Linked DNA regions of Homo sapiens: regions 1, 2, 3, 4, 6 and 7 are each linked to region 5. The links are contacts of gene promoters, found by promoter capture Hi-C in blood cells and fetal thymus (Javierre and others, 2016). All regions are on one chromosome and are shown on one strand. Each heading gives the region's core, a stretch centred on a gene start or on the middle of the fragment in contact. The rest is flanking DNA. Distances are from core to core; before and after follow the strand shown. Region 1 overlaps PSTPIP1 (proline-serine-threonine phosphatase interacting protein 1). Region 2 has its middle 20 kb from the start of TSPAN3. Region 3 holds the start of TSPAN3 (tetraspanin 3). Region 4 has its middle 27 kb from the start of PSTPIP1. Region 5 holds the start of PEAK1 (pseudopodium enriched atypical kinase 1). Region 6 overlaps TSPAN3 (tetraspanin 3). Region 7 has its middle 5.9 kb from the start of PSTPIP1.

What was found. Contacts are between HindIII fragments. The CHiCAGO score rates a contact against its expected background, and 5 or more counts as called.
Region 1: a fragment that was not itself captured here is called in contact with the fragment with the promoter of PEAK1 in region 5 in 1 of 17 cell types (neutrophils); the score reaches 5.9 in neutrophils.
Region 2: a contact is called between a fragment that was not itself captured here and the fragment with the promoter of PEAK1 in region 5, in 4 of 17 cell types (total B cells, naive CD8 T cells, M1 macrophages and 1 more). The highest score is 6.9, in total B cells.
Region 3: the fragment with the promoter of TSPAN3 here is called in contact with the fragment with the promoter of PEAK1 in region 5 in 8 of 17 cell types (monocytes, fetal thymus, total B cells and 5 more); the score reaches 9.5 in monocytes.
Region 4: a fragment that was not itself captured here is called in contact with the fragment with the promoter of PEAK1 in region 5 in 1 of 17 cell types (neutrophils); the score reaches 6.8 in neutrophils.
Region 6: a fragment that was not itself captured here is called in contact with the fragment with the promoter of PEAK1 in region 5 in 2 of 17 cell types (monocytes and neutrophils); the score reaches 6.4 in monocytes.
Region 7: a fragment that was not itself captured here is called in contact with the fragment with the promoter of PEAK1 in region 5 in 5 of 17 cell types (neutrophils, monocytes, non-activated CD4 T cells and 2 more); the score reaches 8.2 in neutrophils.

What each region holds. Positions count from the first base shown.
Region 1 is chr15:77,034,230-77,036,956 of GRCh38, forward strand. It overlaps PSTPIP1 (proline-serine-threonine phosphatase interacting protein 1), which reads left to right. Exons shown (of 15, transcript NM_003978.5): 13 at 1,279-1,334; 14 at 1,573-1,706. Among named protein-coding and RNA genes, the nearest start is that of TSPAN3, 36 kb to the right of the region's middle. RefSeq lists enhancers at 263-900, 901-1,536. The HindIII fragment of the contact is 2,024 bases long and covers 466-2,489 here.
Region 2 is chr15:77,089,428-77,092,243 of GRCh38, forward strand. No RefSeq gene overlaps it. Among named protein-coding and RNA genes, the nearest start is that of TSPAN3, 20 kb to the left of the region's middle. The HindIII fragment of the contact is 2,467 bases long and covers 260-2,726 here.
Region 3 is chr15:77,069,803-77,072,502 of GRCh38, forward strand. TSPAN3 (tetraspanin 3) reads right to left here and starts at 1,307. Exons shown (of 7, transcript NM_005724.6): 1 at 1,090-1,307. The coding sequence starts at 1,152. RefSeq lists a silencer at 774-1,473 and an enhancer at 1,614-1,673. The HindIII fragment of the contact is 12,417 bases long and covers 171-2,700 here.
Region 4 is chr15:76,967,119-76,969,886 of GRCh38, forward strand. No RefSeq gene overlaps it. Among named protein-coding and RNA genes, the nearest start is that of PSTPIP1, 27 kb to the right of the region's middle. The HindIII fragment of the contact is 7,590 bases long and covers 1-2,768 here.
Region 5 is chr15:77,418,672-77,421,371 of GRCh38, forward strand. It overlaps PEAK1 (pseudopodium enriched atypical kinase 1), which reads right to left and starts at 1,433. Exons shown (of 10, transcript NM_001385026.1): 1 at 1,335-1,433. HMG20A (high mobility group 20A) reads left to right here and starts at 2,217. Exons shown (of 10, transcript NM_001304504.2): 1 at 2,217-2,333. RefSeq lists silencers at 819-1,028, 1,039-1,208, 1,459-1,778 and enhancers at 2,229-2,278, 2,669-2,700. The HindIII fragment of the contact is 8,449 bases long and covers 1-2,700 here.
Region 6 is chr15:77,052,097-77,054,796 of GRCh38, forward strand. TSPAN3 (tetraspanin 3) reads right to left here. Exons shown (of 7, transcript NM_005724.6): 4 at 2,082-2,183; 5 at 681-833; 6 at 289-372. Among named protein-coding and RNA genes, the nearest start is that of TSPAN3, 18 kb to the right of the region's middle. The HindIII fragment of the contact is 2,850 bases long and covers 1-2,700 here.
Region 7 is chr15:76,987,764-76,990,615 of GRCh38, forward strand. No RefSeq gene overlaps it. Among named protein-coding and RNA genes, the nearest start is that of PSTPIP1, 5.9 kb to the right of the region's middle. RefSeq lists an enhancer at 609-768. The HindIII fragment of the contact is 2,577 bases long and covers 106-2,682 here.

The DNA of each region.
Region 1 (2,727 bases), core at 228-2,727, 380 kb before region 5:
GCCCTGCACCCCTTTCCCCCTGCCCTGGCCGCTTCCTCCACCTGTCCCCAGCCCCTGCTGGCTTGCACCCTGTCCTTTGCTGCCTGGGGAGCTGGCACGTGTGTCTGCCCGCCTGTGTTGGTGTCAGGCCCTCCCATGTGCTGGGTCCACGCATGTCCACCCTGCGCATGTGTGTGCACTCCTGGGGCCTTGGCCCTCGGCGCCTCATGTGGGAAAGGCCCCCCACATGCCACCTTGAATTGCAGGGCTGCCCCCCACAGGCCCCTGAGTCATGGCTCAGCCCCTCACCTGCATTCAAGATCCCTCAGGGTCTGGTCCAGTCTCTATTTCAGTCCTGTCCCCCACACACCCAAATTGGTCCACTCCACTCCACAAACCCCACCTGTGCCATGCCTCCTCCCCTGCACCTGAGCCCTCCCTCTCCTGGTCACCTGCAGTGCCTCGCTCCCCCTTCTCTCCTAGTAAAGCTTCACTCATCTTTGAAGACTCAGCCCCACCCCACTAAGAAGCCCTCTTGCCTTGGAGGCAGTGTCAGCCTCTACTTGTTGAGCCCTCACTACTGCCCACTTCAGGGGGTGCCCCCAGCATCTGCCGCATCTGCCTCTTCTGTTTTATTTTCCTTTATTCAGTAAACCTTCATGACCCCAGCTCAGTCCAGGCCTAAGCCTGGTGCAGGGGCAGGGGTAAAGTAGCCCAGCGCTGTCCCGGAACTCCTGTGAACAGGGTGGCTGAGCTGGCCTGATCACCGTGGGCCCACAGGGAGGAGGGCTGGCTCGGCCCAGGCAGTGGAGGCCTCAGCAGGGCACGTGAGCCAGGCTTTGTGTGGCAGTGCACCCCCCACCCCTACCCATGGGGGAAGCTGCTAGGGCAAGCTAGAGCAGGGGCCTGGAGGGTGAGGACTGGGCATCTTCCCACGAGGCCTCAGTGCGGAGGTCCTAGAACCCCCAAAGGGCCATGGGAGTCTTCCAATGAAGCTACAGCTTCGGGGGTTCTAGGATCCTCCCAAGGGCCCTGCAGGGAGCAGGTGCTGAGATGGCCTGCAGAGGGCGCCAGTGGAGGGCGTAGCTGGGGAAGGAGGAGCCACCAGGACTACTTTCTGGGGAGCCCTCCTGCCTGAGGGGCACCTCATAAATGACATCCATGCCTGGAGGCTAGGGGCAGTCCCAGCCCTGGCAGAGCGCGTGCAGCTCTGAGACCTCTCCCTGTCTAAACCCTCCCTCCTGGTGGGTCCCTGAGTGTGGGGCGGGGACACTCACCCTCTTTCCTCCCTGTTCCCAGGTTCTCTGGACTGCTGCACGGAAGTCCCAAGACCACTTCGTTGGCAGCTTCTGCTGGTAAAGGGGGTCAGGAGGGGACCCCCAAACACACTGATCCTGGGGGGGAGGAGAGGTCTCCCACATGGCACAGATGGGGCCACTGAGGCCCTCAAGAGGAAGTGTGTGTCCCCCAACAGCAAGTGTGGACAGCAGAAGGAAGAGGCAGGGCCCAGCATGGAGAAACCCCATTCTAGTAGGACTTCCAGGGGCCAGTGTCCCCAGAAGGGGAGGGGTCTATGTCTCACCCTGCTCTTAGCGTCCACAGAGACCCTGACCCCCACCCCCGAGCGGAATGAGGGTGTCTACACAGCCATCGCAGTGCAGGAGATACAGGGAAACCCGGCCTCACCAGCCCAGGAGTACCGGGCGCTCTACGATTATACAGCGCAGGTGAGGCCTCTATACCCCAAACCCACCTGTGCCACCTCCCCTGCACCTGAGAGCTCCCTCTCCCATCCAGTGCCTTGCGTCCTCATCTCTCCTCATGGTTTCACTCATCTTCGAGCATCCTCTCCTCCTCAGGAGGGCACGTGTGCCCGAGTGTGTCCACACTAGCAAGGGTACCTGGGAGTGTGCTTGGATGTGAGCTCTGAGAACAGCACCCAGGGCTTGCGGGGCCTCAGTGTGCATGTACTGACTGGAAGCTGGTGTGCAGCAGGCCTGTGTCTGCCCGGGCCTGTACACAGCACACACGTGGAGCACATGTACCTATGCCGTCCACACAGGCTGGGCGCTGAGTGGTGCACACGTGCGGGGAGCTGGCAGAGCCTGGAGCTGCCTGCAGGTCATAGCTTGAGGGCCAGGCTCTGTGCCTTTGGGTCAGGGCCCTGTCCTTCGTGGCCATGGGTGTGGAAAACTGTGGCCAGAATGAGTCTTGCTATCGTGCCAGGATTGATTTTCTGATGTCCATAGGGTGAGGATGAACCAAGGCAGCCACAGGGCAGCTATGAGAGTCCTTTCTGCTCCCTGCTTGAGGGGAAGAATGCATAGCCAGACCTCACATCCACCTGGACTGAGGCCAAGCACCCCCACATAGCCAGGCAGGCTGGGTGTGGACTCCACTGATGAGGCCAGGGCTCGGGGAGGCAGGGAAGCCAGGCCAGGAGAGTGATGGGGTACTTGGATGGCAGTGGCTAGCTGGGGCTGGGGACCGCAAAGGGGAGGCTTGTGGTAAGCTTAGGCATGAGTGTGCCCTGGGCTTGGGGTATGATGAGCACCCGTGACCCCTGACATGCTCCAGTCACTGCGTCTCCAGAATGGGAGAGGGGAGGTGAGGCTGGGAAGAAACCCAGGTTGGGGGAGAACTATGATGACAAACTGAGGGGGATGGGAGGCCCGGTCCGTTGGGTTACCCCCATCCTGTGTCCCCAAGGGGCTGCCCCTGCCCACCCTGGGAGACATGCCGCATTTA
Region 2 (2,816 bases), core at 243-2,742, 330 kb before region 5:
GATACAGATCACTTGAAAGGTGTCTAGTGTGTCTAAGGAACTGAACTTCTGATTTTGTTTAATTCAAGATAATTTAAATATAATAGCCACGTGTGGCTAGTGGCCACAGTATTGGGCAGCACGGGTCTAAATCAGTCATTGAAGCCAAAGCCTTGACCTCTCTTTGGGCCTGTTTGTCCAGTACCATGGAGAGCCCGTAGTGGTGGGCTGTCAGTATTAACTTCCTGTTTAGGCAGCCATTGTGTTTTACTCACATTGAAGCTTTACTCCTTTGGATATCAAAACCTGTAAACCAACAAGCGCAGAGCTGTGGGAACAAGAAGCGCATTTATTGAAAAGGTGTTATTAGTGAAGGGCACCATTCCCACATCCATGCTTTGGTGCCAAGATTGCTGTGATCAGTATAAATTGGTTGCTGGTTGTGCTCACATACCAAACGCTGGTGGACAGTGTCCCAAATTCACAAAATGTTGTCTACCAGGGTGCTGGGACTGATCCTTTTTTTTTTTTTTTTTTGAGACAGAGTCTCGCTCCGTCGCCCAGGCTGGAGTGCAGTGGTGCGATCTCAGCTCACTGCAACCTCTGCCTGCTGGGTTCAAGTGATTCTCCTGCCTCAGCCTCCCGAGTGGCTGGGTGTACAGGCATACACCACCATGCCTGGCTAATTGTTTGTATTTTTAGTAGAGATGGGGTTTCGCCACGTTGCCCAGATTGGTCTCAAACTCCTGAGCTCAGGCGATCTGCCCACCTCGGCCTCCCAAAGTGTTATCATTACAGGTGTGAGCCACCGCACCTGGCTGGGACTGATCCTTTAACAGCCCATTCTACTCTTCTATAGGGCCAGCTGCTCCTACATGTATGAAAAGACCAGTGAATCCCATGACTATCAACCCACTGCTCCATTTCTTTGACTGTACACCTGATCCTAGGGCAGAAACAGTGTTGTATGGGTTGCTATGATGGAGTGGAGGACATTATTCAGGCCACTGATGGTGGTGTTGATGGAAACACAGTAAAGACAGGATGCATATTCAACTCCAATATAAGTAGTTATTCCAGTGACGTCAAGTTCCTGCCCCTCCACGATGGAAGGAGCCCCAGTAAAACTAACTTTCCATCAAGTAGCTAACTGGTCCTCCTCACTGTGGTATAATATCAGATTTGCAGAACTGGTTTCTACTGCTGAAAGTTAGACCCTCATCGGTGCCAGTGGCTGCTTCACCTTTGGAGAGGCCATTAGGTCCTCACTTGGATAGGTGGCTGCTGCATCCAAAACTACTTTATTCCTGAGTGGGTACAAGGGTGACCGAGGAAAGAGACTTATAGACATTTACTCATCCACTGGGTGGGTCTTCTTGTCCACCTGATTATTGAGAACTTGCTCCACAGTGAGGACATTTTGGAGAGAATCCACATGGCACACAAATACTCATTGCCTCTGGGTCAGTTCTGAGCGATCCATGCACATTCTCTTCCCCAAACCATCCTGTCTCCAATCTCGCATCTTGTTCTGGAGTCCTTGTTTGTCCAGCAAAACCATGACCTACTGCCCATGAGCCAGTGTAGATCTATATCTCAGGCCATCTGGCCTTTGGGGAAAGTGTTCAAGATGTAACGCTCTAAATTCCACTCCTGAGAGGATTTGTTCTCCACACTGTCTTTTGGGGCCACTCCTGAGTGGGAGAGTAACACTGCAGCTGTGCACTTTTACTGAACCAGTTGGGGTAAACTCTACTCAATTATTATCTTCCTCTGTCAACTGGCCACAAGGAACACCCCTGAAGCCATAGATGTGGAGCATAGTTTGAGTGACAGGAGGACAGGACCACAGGAGGTGAATTATCCCCACAGCTGTGTTTGGGTGACAGGCCACCCATGTGTCCAAGTGAACACTGCTTGGCGCTTCCAGCTGCAACAACGGCAGTGTGTGCTCCAGCCTTCCTGCTTGGAACTGTAATTCCTTTGTGTGTTTTGTGTATCAGATTTTGGTATGCAGACTTGCAAAAGAGTGTATTTCCATCTTTATGTTCTATATAGTTTAATAAGATTATCAGTGTGTTGAAAGTTTGTCAGATTTTGCCTTCAGTCATCTAGGTATTTATGTGTTTTGGTTGGTAGACCCTGAACGATCTTTTCAATTTCTTCTCTAGTAACAGGGCCACTCAGGTTTTGTTGTTGTTATTGTTGCTGTTTTTTGAGACGGAGTCTTCTTCTGTCGCCCAGGCTGGAGTGTAGTGGCACAGTCTAGGTTCACTGCAATGTCTGCCTCCCGTGTTCAAGTAATTCTCCTGCCTCAGCCTTTCAAGTAGCTGGGATTACAGGAGCACACCATCACATCCGGCTAATTTTTGTATTTTTAGTAGAGACGGGGTTTCATCATGTTGGCCAGGCTGGTTGCGAACTCCTGACCTCAGGTCATCCACCCATCTTGGCCTCCCAAAGTGTTGGGATTACAGGAGTGAGACACCACACCCTTCCACCACTCAGGCTTTTTATCTCTTATTGAGCCTATTTGGTAATTTACATATTTCTAGAAATATATCCATTTTTATCCATAATATCTGCTTTATCTAAGTTTTCAAATTTTAGCATCATGTTACACATATTATTTGCTTATAATCTATACAATTGCCTCTGTATTTGCAGTTGTGTAATCCCTCTTGCCTTTACTAATGATAAATATTTGTGTTTTCTCTTTTTTCTTAGATGCAATAGAGTCTAATCAAAGCTTAATTTTATCAGTTCTACTTTATTTTTCTAAATCATTAATTTATATATTTTCGTTTTTTGTTTTGTTTTGTTTTGAGACAGAGTCT
Region 3 (2,700 bases), core at 57-2,556, 350 kb before region 5:
TAACCGGAATGTTCAAGGAGTGCTCTGGCGACTGTGGACAGAGCAATCTGTCCAGGGCACTCAAGTGTTTAAGGAAATGACAAGTTCAGAGAGGCAAGGTGATTTGGGACCAGACTGAGGACTTCTGCTCCAAGACCAGGGGAAGGAGTTGAACCTTATTCTACCGCTGAAGCTTCTGTTTTCCTTATTTTCAGATCAAGTGATGTGATAGAGGAAACGTTTTAAAAGATTTATCCGGGTGCAAAGTCCAGATGGGCTGGAGGGTGGAGAGACGGATAGGAACAACTTAGGTTACTATAAAAGTCCCTGATGAGATAAGGACCCAAACTAAGATGACATAAACATTCCTTTCAAAGAGGGTGTACCCCTTAAAAATTCATAAGCCACCTTTTATTGAAAGTGAACTCATCACTTTCAAAATCTTGTGACATCTCCATCATATATTTAACCAAGAGTTATAATCTCACAGTTTGGTCACCCCCATGACCAAAACAAATAGACCGATGTTCTTGGTCAATGGATTATTTGGCTCCTCGAGTTGAAACCCTTCATTTTCTGGGCTGGTGACAGTCAGCCGGTTCTCCACACACAAAGGGCGTTAAGTGGAACCCCCGCCCCGGCTCCGCAGCGTCCCCGCGGATCTGCCCGCCTCGGGACGGCCACTCGTCTGCGAGGCCCCGACAAAGAGCGCGGAACCTGAGCCTCTGGCGAAGATCCTATTTCGAGCCCGACGTCCTGCTACAGTCTGCAATAAGCGCTCTCCGTCCAGCCGGCGACTCCGGGGGGGGGAGACTGGGGCGCCTGGCACGGAGCCAGCCCGCGTGGGCCGAGCGCGGAGGCGCCGGCTGGAGGCCGTGGAGTCCCTGAAGGCCTCCCCTCGCTGTCCTCCGCGCCCAGGCTCCCGGCTTGGTCCGGCAGGGACCTCGCGAAGCGGCCTCACACCCGGCCCTCCCCTCGCCTCAGCCGCCTGAGGGCCCGCGCGCGGCCCCCGCGCGCCCGCCCAGGCCCAAGCCCGGCCCCCACGGGCGCCTCCGCCGCGGCCTCGCCCGGCCCCGCCGCCGGCCCCTCGCTCTGCCCGGCCCCGCTCACCCAGAAGATGAGGTTGAGAAAGACCAGCACGGTCTTGGAGGAGGTGATGCCGCACTGGCCCATGGCGCCGGTGGCCCGCGAAGGCCCGGCCCGGAGAGCGGGGCTGCGCTCACCGAGAGAGCGGCAATGGCGGCGGCGCCTCCTCGCTAGGAACTGCACGGCCTGCGCGGCGCTCCCCGCAGCCCCTGCGCCGTCGCGCAGCCCCGACCCCAGCAAGTGCCTCGCTCCTCCGCGCAGCCGCCGCAGTCCCCTCAGGGCTCCCGCGCCGCTCCCTGGCAACCGAGTCCCGCCCCACGCGGCCGGTAGCTTCAGCCAATCGCCTCTGCGGAGGCTGCAGTGAGGCCACGCCTCTTAAAGGAGCCAAGGCCTCAGCGCCTTTTCTTGGCCTCTGGCCGCCCTTGGACGCAGATGGCTCCCTAGGGAGGTTCTGGTGGACCAAACCCACTCTCCTCCTATGACTATGCCACCCTTATAGATGATTCAGAGCCCTCTGAGTGCTATCTTTCTACCTAGCCCATTCTCCCCTAGGAAGGTTGGAGACACTAATCTCTGCCTGACCAGATTCTCCTGACCAGGTTAAAATCTTGGCAGCACTGTTGGTGAGAAGTGCAAAGAAAAACAACAAATACTTATGGAGAAACTTATTGTACCAGGCGCTGGGCTAGACCTCAGAAGAGTCAGAGAGGAGAAAAGGCTGGTGATGGCGTTAGCAAGGCAGAGACATGTTTGTGTGGGTGAGTGGTTGGGAACAAGTTCTATTCCAGGGTAGTAAGTTTTGGACCAAGATTCGCAACGATTACAGAAACATCTCTTTGCATTGCAACATTTCACATTCTTCCCCCAATCTTGAATCCGTCATAGCAATTAATTATTGGGTGCTCACCCGGTGCCAGGCTCCATTAGTTCATTTAACCCCCACCACAACCCTGGATGGAAGGCACTATGGTTATCAGCCTCATTTTACTGATCGGGTAATTGAGGCTTAGAAAGGTTAAGAAGTTCGCCCAGAGCCACACATAGTAAGTGGTCTAGTGCAAAAAACACATCATCAGTCACACAATAAACTGCCTCTGTTTGCTGTCTTTCCTGCCATTATAATCCTGCACTCCCTCCTTGACCGCGCCCGTAAGGATTTCCATTTACTGGTCTTTATCAGCTCGCTCTCATGCAATCTCCCCCACTCATCACCTTTCCCAGGCACTCTCAGAAGTACCTGTTAATCTCAGCATCCTGTGCATTTACACCAAGCAGCAGCAACAGCCATTTATTCACTCATCAAACTTGCCGCGTGTCCCCTCTGGGCCTCACTGTTGTCGGTGGTGGATATTCCACTGTGAGCAAGACGTATCCTTCCTTCCATGGCTTACATTCGTTCGGGCAGAGGAGGCAGACCATAAACAAACGGGCAAGTGGGTATATGACATGAGGTAGTGTTAGGAAACAATTCAGAGGAAAGGAATAGAGTGATGAGAGGAGTCCTCTCTGAGGAGAGAACATTGGAGGGGACCCAAGGGAGGTGAGGGGAACAGCCCAAAGATGAGAGCAGCAAGGACAAAGGCCCAGAGACCGGAACATGATCACTGTGCTGTAGGAAGGGGAACACAGAGAGCC
Region 4 (2,768 bases), core at 50-2,549, 450 kb before region 5:
ATCCTGGGTGCATATCAAGTCCTTTCCGACAGGAGCTCCTTTGATTCTGTGGTTCTTTGAGAATTTTCCAAACCGGAACTTCTGCTCCCCTCCCAGGCTTTTCCTGAGCTGCCCACACACTTCCTTGGATGTGGTGTCACCAAGGTGGTGATGTTTATGGGGAAGGGGAAAGACGTGAGTGTGTGCACTGCTGCAGCCACATACCTCACATGCCCCTCTCCAGGGATGGCACACGGTGAGGGCTTTCCATGCTGGGGTCAAGGATTGCAGGGGCAGCAGATGGCAGAGGCTGCAATTTGAGTTTAACCAAGCCTTTCACCACCTTTGGTGCAGACAGGAGAAAAGGCAGGGAGCCCCAAAGCCTGCGCCAATGGGAAGGGCAGGGGTAGAATTGGTTTTGCCATGCTGGGGGAAACCTGTCTTGAAGGTAGCCTAGGAGACTGTCAGAGCCTGCCCTGGTGGTGGGATTTCAGAGGTGAACCTGGGGGACTTCCCAGACTCTAAAGGGGCCAAATGTGAGAAGGCCCATGGACTTGCCACAGAGGGGAGGGCCGCCAGCCAGGGCCTGCCTTTGTCTGCCCAGACTTGCTGGCTCTGAGTCTGTTTTTTCCAACAGAACCAGAACTTTGTCATAAAATTCTTGGACTACTTGAGTTTCTGGATTAGAAAGTCTCCTCCTCACCCCCTCCTCACCCCCTCCCCACCCCCACAATGATGATAGCTCCAGTCTTTCTCATAAACACCTAACAAGAGTAAAATGTTTTCCCTTCAGAAGGATAACAAAAAGAATAACACCAAGGAGATTTCGTTATAGTGCAGCTGCTTCTCTGGTTGGCAAGAGACACAGCTGTAACCTGGAGCTGTTTTTGTTTATTTGAAAGGAAAGGCAAGACAAGTATTCATTAATTCCACAAACATTTACTGAGCCCACAGAGCCACTGGGATTCTGCTGGTCACTGGGGAGATACATATATATGTATATGTATAATACCTATATATAGGTATTATATAATATACCTATATATGTGTATTTAATATACCTATATAATATACCTATATATAAAATATATATGTATATGTATGTGTGTGTGTGTATATATATATATAATATATATGTATATAAAATGTATAAAACTGGGTCTTGCTCTGTTTCCCAGGCTGGAGCGCAGTAGTGCCATCTTAGCTCACTGCTGCCTTGAACTCCTGGGCTCAAGAGATCCTCCCACCTCAGCCTCCCAAGTAGCTGGAACTACAGAAGCAGCCACCACACCTGGCTAATTTTTTAATTTTTTGTAGAGATGGGGTTTTGCTATGTCACCCAGGCTGATCTCAAATGCCTGAGCTCAAGTAATTCTCCTGCCTGGGCCTTCCAAAGCACTGTGATTACAGGCATGAGTCACTGTGCCCAGCCATTGAGGATATTAAGTCAGCCCCAGCTCTGAAGGTGCCATCAGTGAGGAGGAGATGGACATAAGAAAATCACAGCCCAGGTTCTAAAGGCCTCATCTTCTTTAAAAAAAAAAAAAAAAAGAAAAGAAAAGAAAAAAGAAAGAAAGAAAATCACAGCCTGGAAATCCGTGAATTGACACTGATAAGTTCACACAGGCTATACAGTTAGCCAGGTGAAGAAAAGAAGGATACCAAGCCTTCTAAGCAGAGAGTAGAGCATGTGTGGGCAGCCCAGAGTCAGGGAAGTGTGGGCTTCCTCCTTGGTAGAGAGGGGCATGAGAGGTGCTGGGTAGAGAGGGCCAGAATGTTATAGGAAAGGCATCCTGATCCAGACCCCAAGAGAGGGTTCTTGGATCTTGCACAAGAAATAATTCAGGGTAAGTCCGCAGTGCAATGTAAAAGCAAGTTTATTAAGAAGGTAAAGTGGTGAAAGGACGGCTACTCCATAGACAGAGCAGGACGTTCCCGAAAGTAAGAGGAGGAAGGCGTCCACCCTGGGTACAATGCTTGTATATATGGAGAGATGTGCTCTGCTACAAGGGTTTGTGATAAAGGATTAATTTTCTTAATTATGATATTTTGCAAGAATTGATATTATTATCTTTAAAGCAAAATTAGGAATGCCTGTGTTCTCCAGATATCAGGATATCTGGACATTCCCGTCTGGGTCTGTTTAGTAAACATTATTAATTTTTTCCCTTAACTGTAAATATCTAGAGGCCAGGAATGCCTGACTTTCTGAGAATGCAGCCCAGCAATTCCCAGCCCCATTTTCCTAGCCCTTACTCAAAATGGAGTCGCTCTGGTTCGAATGCCTCTGACAAGAAGATAGACCAATATGAGGGGCCAGGCAGGTCTGGTGGGTGCTGTCTGTCAAGCTGAATTTGGACTTTATCCTATGAATGATCAAAAACTGTTGATGGGTTTTAAGCAGGGGAGAGTCTTGACCACATTGGTAATATAGAAAAACTCTGTGAAATAAGGATGTACAGGATTTGCATCTAAAATGAACTCAGATCAAAATACAAAAGGCAAGCCTGCCGTGGTGGCTCACATCTGTAATCCCAGCGCTTTGGGAGACTGAGGTGGGTGGATGACTTGAGGCCAGGAATTGGAGACTAGCCTGGCCAACATGGTGAAACCCTGTCTGTACTAAAAAAATACAAAAATTAGCCGGGTATGGTGGCGCGTGCCTGTAGTCCCAGCTATTCACAAGGCTGAGGCAGGAGAATCACTTGAACCCAGGAGACAGAGGTTGCAGTGAGCCCAGATCAAGCCACTGCACTCCAGCCTAGGCGACAGAGCAAGACTCTGTCTCA
Region 5 (2,700 bases), core at 183-2,682:
CTGAGATTACGAGAGAAGCCATCATGAAGTGAGTATCCAAGATTGCTCATGGAAAGTTTTACCCCGGTGGATAATTCACGTTTTTCACTTCCACACTGCAGAGAGCAATATGGGTTCTCTGACTATACACATCACTACATCACTTCATTTATCGGGGGAAAAAAAAAGACGCTGTGGCTGAACAAAAATCAGTAAGTAGGCCCCAAAACAGAATCCTCAAGGCAATCCCAATTCAGGTGAAAAGCTGTTCACGTACATCATCCAATGACCTAAAAATAGTCTTTTATGTAAGTCTCTAAGTATTTAATTCAACGTATGATCTTACCACATTCAACAGAGGCAGAAAAAAAATCAATTAGGTTTTCTATAGCAAGGCCAATAAAGATGAAATCATAGTTTTCCTCTAACTCATCACTACCCCCTCAACGTCAGCCTTCCAATAACTCCATTCCACAGCTCTCAAATTCCTGAACTTGGATCTTTAAAAAACAACGAATCGCAAAAAGTAACATTTAACAGGCCAGAGGCAGGCGGGGGAGGAGGGTCTCTCCCGGTGCTCTCAGCAATCTTTAACGTAGCCAAAGGAGGAAAAAACGAAATCAAGCTCCCAGACGGATGGTGCATGCGACGAGAGGGGAGGGGGCAGACGCGGTTCAGACGGCAAGTCCCCATCGAAGGAGGAAAGAAAAGTTGCAAGAACGGATGGGTCAAAGGGCAGAAAAGAAAAAAACTGAGCAGCCGAACCACTCACAACCCCCAAACGACCCCGCCAGCCCACACGTTCGCGGGCTCCCCAGCCGCGGCGCGAAGGGAGCAGGCAGGGAGCCACCCGGCTCCGTCCCGACGCTGCCGGCGAGGCTGCGCCGATGCTCCCGGGTGCGGGAGCGGGCTGACCGTGTGGACCCGGCAGGAGCCAGAGAAGCCCCTCCTGCCCCGGCCTCCCCGCGTCCAGCTCCTCCAGGCTTCACTTTCCCCCGCAACCTCCCAGCCGCGCCCGGGGGCGTCCCTCGCGGCAGGTCCCAACTTTCCTTCCTCTGGGGGGCGTCGCGCTCCCGGGGCCGCCGCCGAGGGAGGGGGCAGGGGCGGCAGGGGGCGCGCGGCACCGGCGGGGCGCGGGGGTGGCCGGGGAGCTAGAGCCCGCGCCGGGCGGGACGCACCGGCCGCCAGAGCCCCGGCGGCGGCGCCACCCAGAACCCGCGCCGCCACCCAGAACCCGCGCCGCCCCGCCCGGATTCCCCCGGGTCAGCGCCCTCAACCCGCGGCAACCCTGGTCCCACAGACGGCGCGTGAGTAGAAGACAACCGAGCGGACGCGGACAGCCGGGCCGCTGTTACCTGAGGGGCGCACACGCCGCCGCGGCGACCACCATCACCGTCCGTCCCGTCCCCTTCCTGGTGACCACGGCCGCCGCCGCCGAGCAACTGACACTGACTAACAACAACTAACTAACTACTCGCCGCGGCCGAGTCCACCGCGCGCTCCCGGCCGCTCGCCGCCCGCCCAGCCCACCAGCCTGCCCGCCTCCTCTCGGCCCCGCGCGCCGCCCCTCCGCGCGCGCCCTCGCCCGCTCGCCGCGCTCCTGGAGCCGTGAGCACGCGCGCGCTCACGGGCCCCGGTCGTCTCCCAGGTCTCCCTCAGCCCCAGCGGGAGGAGTCACCGCCAGGCCCCTCCTCTCTGCCTTCCAACCTCCAGAGGACGAGACCTAAAGGGTGCCTGATTGGCTGCGGAGGGCGGGGCTAAGACAAGGGGCGGGGCTGCCGAGACCTTGGGCCCGCGTGAGGGAAAATTTGGGTTCGATTAAGCCGCAGAGGAAAAGACCAGGGGAGTCTGGGCCCATTTGGGCGTCGGGGCCCGCTAGGTCAGCCGTCATCGAATACAGAATATGTTTTCGAGGACGCTAATATGTAGTCATGACCAATTTCAGTTCTTCTACTTTCTGCGGGCCTTCGCAATAAAAAAAAAAAAACTACATCTCCCAGAAACCTCCACGAAAATAAGGCTCACCTTGCGTAACCACGTAGTCCTTCGCCGCATTGGGGCAAAATAATCCCTTCATTTTTGTGAAGGTACCGTGGAAAATATTTCATTTTTCTTCTCACCGGAGCAATTGTAAATGCTATGCGGTAAGAGGAGTTACCTGTGGAAAGGTGGTTAAGAGATTAGGTAAAGAAAAGGAAAGGACACCAAAATAAAGTGCTGCGGAAGAATTTTTGTCCAGCTGTGAGACGACGAGTGCGTGAAGTGAAGGCGATTGAGAGGGGCTGAGGGAATTGTCCTCTGTGGAAGGGACTTTCTTTTGGCCCTAGGCCCCTTCCTGCCCCTGTCGTCAGCAGGTCAGTAAGCAAGGCGAGCTTGGGGGTGGCCCCAGTCGAGATGCCCTTCACCCCTTGAAGATCACCCCTCTTTTGGTGGTGGTGGTACTGGTTTGTCTCAGTTGGAGGCCGGCTGAATGGGGGCGCCTCAACTTCCGGTTGGGGGAGGGGAGGAAGGCCGTCCTGGGGAGGGGGGACACCCTCACTTCCTGTGGGGGGGTGGTGATGGTTTGGGGGTGTCCGACCCACTTCCAGTGCTGATGAGGGCTTGAAAAGGTGGTGCTTGGTGCCATTCGCGGAGACATTATCTTGCAGCTTGGGGATTGTGTTTTATGTGAAAAGTTAGATTATTCCAAGTTGTGCTGAACACCAACCTGCAGTCAGAATT
Region 6 (2,700 bases), core at 79-2,578, 370 kb before region 5:
TCGTTTATGTTTTGAACAGGTCACTCACTAATCAAGAAAGACAGTAAGACGAGGAGTTCCCTCAACACGTGGTCCCTCCCCATCCAGATTTCTGGTTTCTTTAGACCATTCCGGGTCTAGGTGTATAGACAAGAAATGGAAAACATGGGAAACTGGAGGCCAGTACCTCAGTCACTTCCACATTACCTACATACACAAAGATTCACTGTGATGGGGATTAAAACCATTCAGGGCTGACAACAGAGAACCAACTCACTCCGATAGAACTCCTTGGCAAGCTGTGCTTACCTGAATAGCTGCAAATGCCAGTGCGGCCCAGATCACATGCATCATGATTTCTTGTAGCTTCTTCACTACTAGAGCCTCACACCCCTGTAACAAACACAGTCATCCTCGTTAGAAGTGTTCTTTAAAAGTTAAAGCTGCAGATTCACAGGCCACTACCCACTTACAGAAAGGAAAATGACAGAAACTGAAAGAGTGGAAAAAAGATTCCATGATTGGTATAATTTACAGACATGTAATTAAAACAAAGACATGCATTTTATAATAATTTACAGTAAAACAATATATGACATTAAAGACAAGCAAGGTGGCAGAAAAGAAGTCCCAGATGGTGATAAGACATGGTGAAAAACAGGTTAATCAAGCTAGACTCAAGTCGTGGCCAAGAGACTCACCTCAGCATAGAGGTCGGAAGGGTGGGCCAGGCTGCCATTACAATTGCTGGCAGTCTCTCTGCAGCAGCTAAGAGGGACACTCTGGTTTTTGGTTTCTTTGAACCAATCTGTATTTTCCCAGTCTGAGTAGTTGTGAATTCCACAACAATGCAGCTAAAGGAGAAGAGAATAAGTATTATTTCTCACAAAAACCAAATACCTGAAGTTCCATGTACTACAGAGCTTTAAAATAAGCTACTCTAGACCAGTGATGTCCGATACAACTTTCTATAATGGAAAGTCTGCATGATCCAATATAGCAGCCACTAGCCACATGAAGCTCTACTGAGCACTTAAATTGTGGCTAGTGTGACTAGAAAACTGCATTTTAAATTTTAATGTAAACAGCCAGACATGGCTAGTGGCTCCAGAATCTCCATATGAAAAGTACATTGCCAGGCCGGGTGCAGTGGCTCACGCCTGTAATCCCAGCACTTTGGGAGGCCGAGATGGGCGAGTCACCTGAGGTCAAGAGTTCAAGACCAGCCTGACCAACATGGTGAAACCCCGTCTCTACTAAAAATACAAAGGCTGAGGCAGGAGAATCACTTGAACCCGGGAGGTGGAGGTTGCAGTGAGCCAAGATCGCGCCACTGCACTCCAGCCTGGGCAACAAGAGTGAAATTTCGCCATCTCAAAAAAAAAAAAAAAAAAAAAAAAAAAAAAAAAAAAAAAAAAAGAAAAGAAAAGTACATTGCCTATAAGCGGTAGTTTCTAACTAAGGAAAATCTTCATGTCTTACATGTTAAATATCTGGTTCCATGTTAAATATTATTTCCAATGACAAAGTATTTAAAATATTTGGTCTTAAAAATTTTGAGATTTGCTTTAAGATAATGAAGCAAAAAGTAAGTAGGGGCAATAAGACTGACGAAAAGTTGATATTACTGAGGCAAGGTCGGGGTGCAAACATCTATTACACTATTCTTTCTACCTTTGTGTGTATCAGACTGTCCATAACAACTTTTTTTTGACAGTTTTTCTGTTGCCTTTTCTTATCTTGTTTTCTAAAGGTATATATAGACCTCCCACCTCCCCTGGAGTCAATCTGGACTCCCACCTTTCCTGTGACACATACCTCTCTCTTGCGTCATCACCCCTTTGGCTAAGTACTTTGGGAGAGTACAGACTGGGGTCAGGGAAGGGGAAATCAGATGATAAAAAAAAGTTCAAGATGTTTCTCATCTGGCTAGGTGATGAAATAAACTTTTCAAGGGTGAAGGTTGGGGAAAAATATTGGTCACATCAGGATAGCCATGTATGTGAAGAAACATGGCTAATTTACACAGAAATAGCAGTTAGTTTAATGTTGACCCAATCGTGATTGGTCCTCAAAAACAAATCTGCCTCAAGAAAGCTCACCTGTCTCTGTACATAATCAATAGCCCGGCTAGCAGCATCAGGGTTGGTTCCATTGTAGGTCTTATACACTTTCTGAATGCTGCGATCAACCTCATTTTCCACCTGAATCAGAACAAAGAATTCAGTCCCTCAAAAATACTAGTAAAAGTAACATTAGTCAAGGCTCCTACTAAAATACTTAAATGAAATGTTTGCAAGTTGCCAGATATCTATGAATTTCCTGTAAAGTTTTCTCCCTTCCTGCCTTCATCTTCATATAGATATAGATGAAGGCAGGAGGGAGAAAAGTGACAGGTAAAAATTCAGACATATACCACATACATTCAAGCATTCAAAGAGAAGATTGTGTGCAAAATGGCAGGCTAACAATGTATTCAAAAGGGAGAAAAGTTGAGGCTTGGGATAGATGTCCTAAATTATAAATGGATGCCTTCCTTTTACAAATAAGTTACTCATTTTCCTTTCCTAAAGGAGGTAAAACAAAGTAACTCTGAAGCTCCTGTAAGATACTTTTAGGACAAATGCCAACATTATTTCCATTTTATTTATTCAACGTTTAGAGTTGGCTAAATGTGCAAAAGTAATCGGCAGGTTTAAAAAAATCAGTCCTTAGAAATGG
Region 7 (2,852 bases), core at 144-2,643, 430 kb before region 5:
TCTCTGCCTATTGATTTTCCGGCCCAGCCAAGACTGAAGTTGGGGTCTCCTGCCTCTGAATCCTAGGTTTTCAGGGAAAATTAAACACCAGCTGGGCTGAAATCAAGCTTTGCTTTACTGTGAACAAGTCATTTTCCACCTGAATTAAAACCAACCCAAGGGGGGAGAGGATGCTAGAAACACATTTTTGAAGCTGTTTTGAGAGACAGCTGCCATAATGGAAACAAAACAAAACAGGCTAGAAAAGGGGTTGGGGGGTGGGAGATGGTTATGCCTTTCCTTCCCTGTCAGTGAGATCATTCTACTGGTCCCCCTCTGGGCCCTGCTACCCCACTTATTGGGCCTCAGTTTCCCATTTGTAAAATGAGAAAGTAAGGCAATAGCAGGAGTTCTCCTCCAAGGTGTATGACTGACTCACTTACGAAACCTAAAATCTATACTCCCTGGCCCCACCCAGTCAGTAGGCCAAGGTTGGGACTTGGCCTTTTGCTTTTTTTTTTTTTTTTTTTTTTAACAAAGTCCCACTTCTGGTAGGCACACTTTGTGCTGTTTGAGCACCTCCAGATAGTCCCTGCAGGCTCTTCCATCACTGCAGTCCTCCGTCCTCTGACCAGTGATCGGGTGGCAGTGGATTCCTGGGACTCACTGAGGCCCCTTCCCCATGCCCACCAGTTCCTGGGCCACCTCCCGAAGGGCCACTTTGCACCTCTTTGCTGTCTTTCAAGAATCCTGACCGGCACTCGGCTTCTGACGACTGATAATGCTTGGAAACTCAGAGTCACACTCTTGTGGCTGCAAATTAGTAAACCTGAAAGCTCCTCGTCAACTCAGGCGAGCTGTGTGAGTGGGAAGAGGCCTTAGTTTTTGCAACTGCTGTCCCTGGGGGCAAACTGAAAAACAAACTGTATCACATCCTGAAGGCCAAAGGCCACACCCTCAGCCCCAGTGGAGGACTCTGGGGCAAGGATATTTCCTGGAGTCAGAGGAGAGGAGCCTCCATCTGAGCGCCACACCCCCACCCCGCATGGGCTCTGCACTTCCTCCTCAGTGGGGACTTGCTTTTCCCTTCTTCCTCATCCTGTTTCTGCCCCAGGCCCTGGCCCCTCACTGCCAGCCCCACACTCTGGGGAGGAAAGACCCTTTTTAGCGATGGGACTCCGAAAAGTTAACTGACCTGTCTAAGCCTCAGGTTCCTTATCTGTTGAATGTGGCCGTAATGCCTCACACTGTTGTTGGGAAGATTAAGTGATACATAAGGCATGGGAAGTGCTTACAGCAGAGCCTGATGCAGCACAGCCCTAGTAGACTATTAGCGTTATTCTGGAACTCCCTTCCTGCCTCACGGGTGAGCTCTTTCCCATTAATCAAGACCCAGCTCCCCTCCTTTGGGAGGACTTCCCAGGCCAGGCTCCTCAACAGCCTTTCTCTGTTGTCTGCGCACAGCACATTTTCCCTTCCTAGGCTGCCTCCCTCACCAGACTGGCAGGGGCTGAGCTTGTTCATTTGCATGTTCCCAGACAGGAAGGCTCAGTCAGTGCTGGTGGGTGTGCTGCAGTGGAGCTTGTTCCAATCTGGGACAGGGTAAGTGGGGTGGACAGTGGTTGCCCCAGTACAGTAGGCATGTGCCTCTGGCCACCTGGAGGGACCCTACAGGTATTTCCCCCAGCAATAGTGAACCATCATGGCCAGGTGCTGGAACATCCCACTTCAGCCATGGGATGGGTGCACAACCCTACAGCCATGGGCAGCGTCATGACAGTGCATCCACCGAGGTCTAAATGGCCGACTCATGAATGCCCTTCTGGCCATAAGCTGATGGCAGGTTGAGAATTACTCCTGCAGGACAGATGCTCCCCTGCAGAAGGGAGAAGCGTGCGTCACTTGCCCTACCCCTTGGACCAGTGGCAATGCCATCTCCAAATGAAATTCATGGCAAGGGCCTCCTGGCTCTTCGAATGTCACCAAAGAGCTTTCAGACCCTCCTTCTCTCCCTCTTCTTTCCAGCCCCTGCCCCTCTTCAGAAGGCTGGAAGCTCTCGCTTTAGATTCTTCCTGGATAACAAATTAGAATCTTAGGACCCTCAGAGTGCAGTCCCGCCCTCCAGCTTGGTGTCAGCCTCACCTCTGAGAGCTATTCCCCCAACAACGTCTTCTCTTCCAGCCCCTGAGAACTTGGCTGAACTTCCTTCAAAATGGTGTTTATTCGGCCAGGTGCAGTGGCTCACACCTATAATCCCAGCAGTTTGGGAGGCCAAGGCAGGCAGATCACCTGAGGTCAGGAGTTTGAGACCAGCCTGGCCAACACTGTGAAACCCTGTCTCTACTAAAAATATAAAAATTAGCCAAGCATGATGGTGCATGCCTGTAATCCCAGCTACTTGGGAGGCTGAGGCTGGGAGAACTGCTTGAACCTGGGAGGCAGAGTCTGCAGTGAGCCAAGACTGTGTCACTGCACTCCAGCCTGGGCGACAGAGCGAGACACTGTCCCAAAAAAAAAAAAAAAAAAAAAGGAAAAAAGAAAAAAGATGTTTATTTGCTTTCCATCTTGCCTGCATTTTGTCCATTTGTCCATCCATTTATTGGTCAGGAAAGGCTTTCCTGAAGAGGTGACATTTGATAAGAGGGCCAAGGGATAAGGAGTAGTTAGCTGGGCCAAGGCAGGGTCTAGGATGGAACGGGAAGAAGCTTCCAGGCAGAGGGGTGATCATGTGTGAAGGACCCGGGAAAGAAGAGAATGAGGCAGAATGGAGGAATTGAAAGATGGTCCAGGAAGCAGTATCAGAAATTGAGAGAGGCATAATGGGAGTTGAAGTTTTGAAGAGTAGGCTGGGACCAAATTATGCAGGGTCTGTA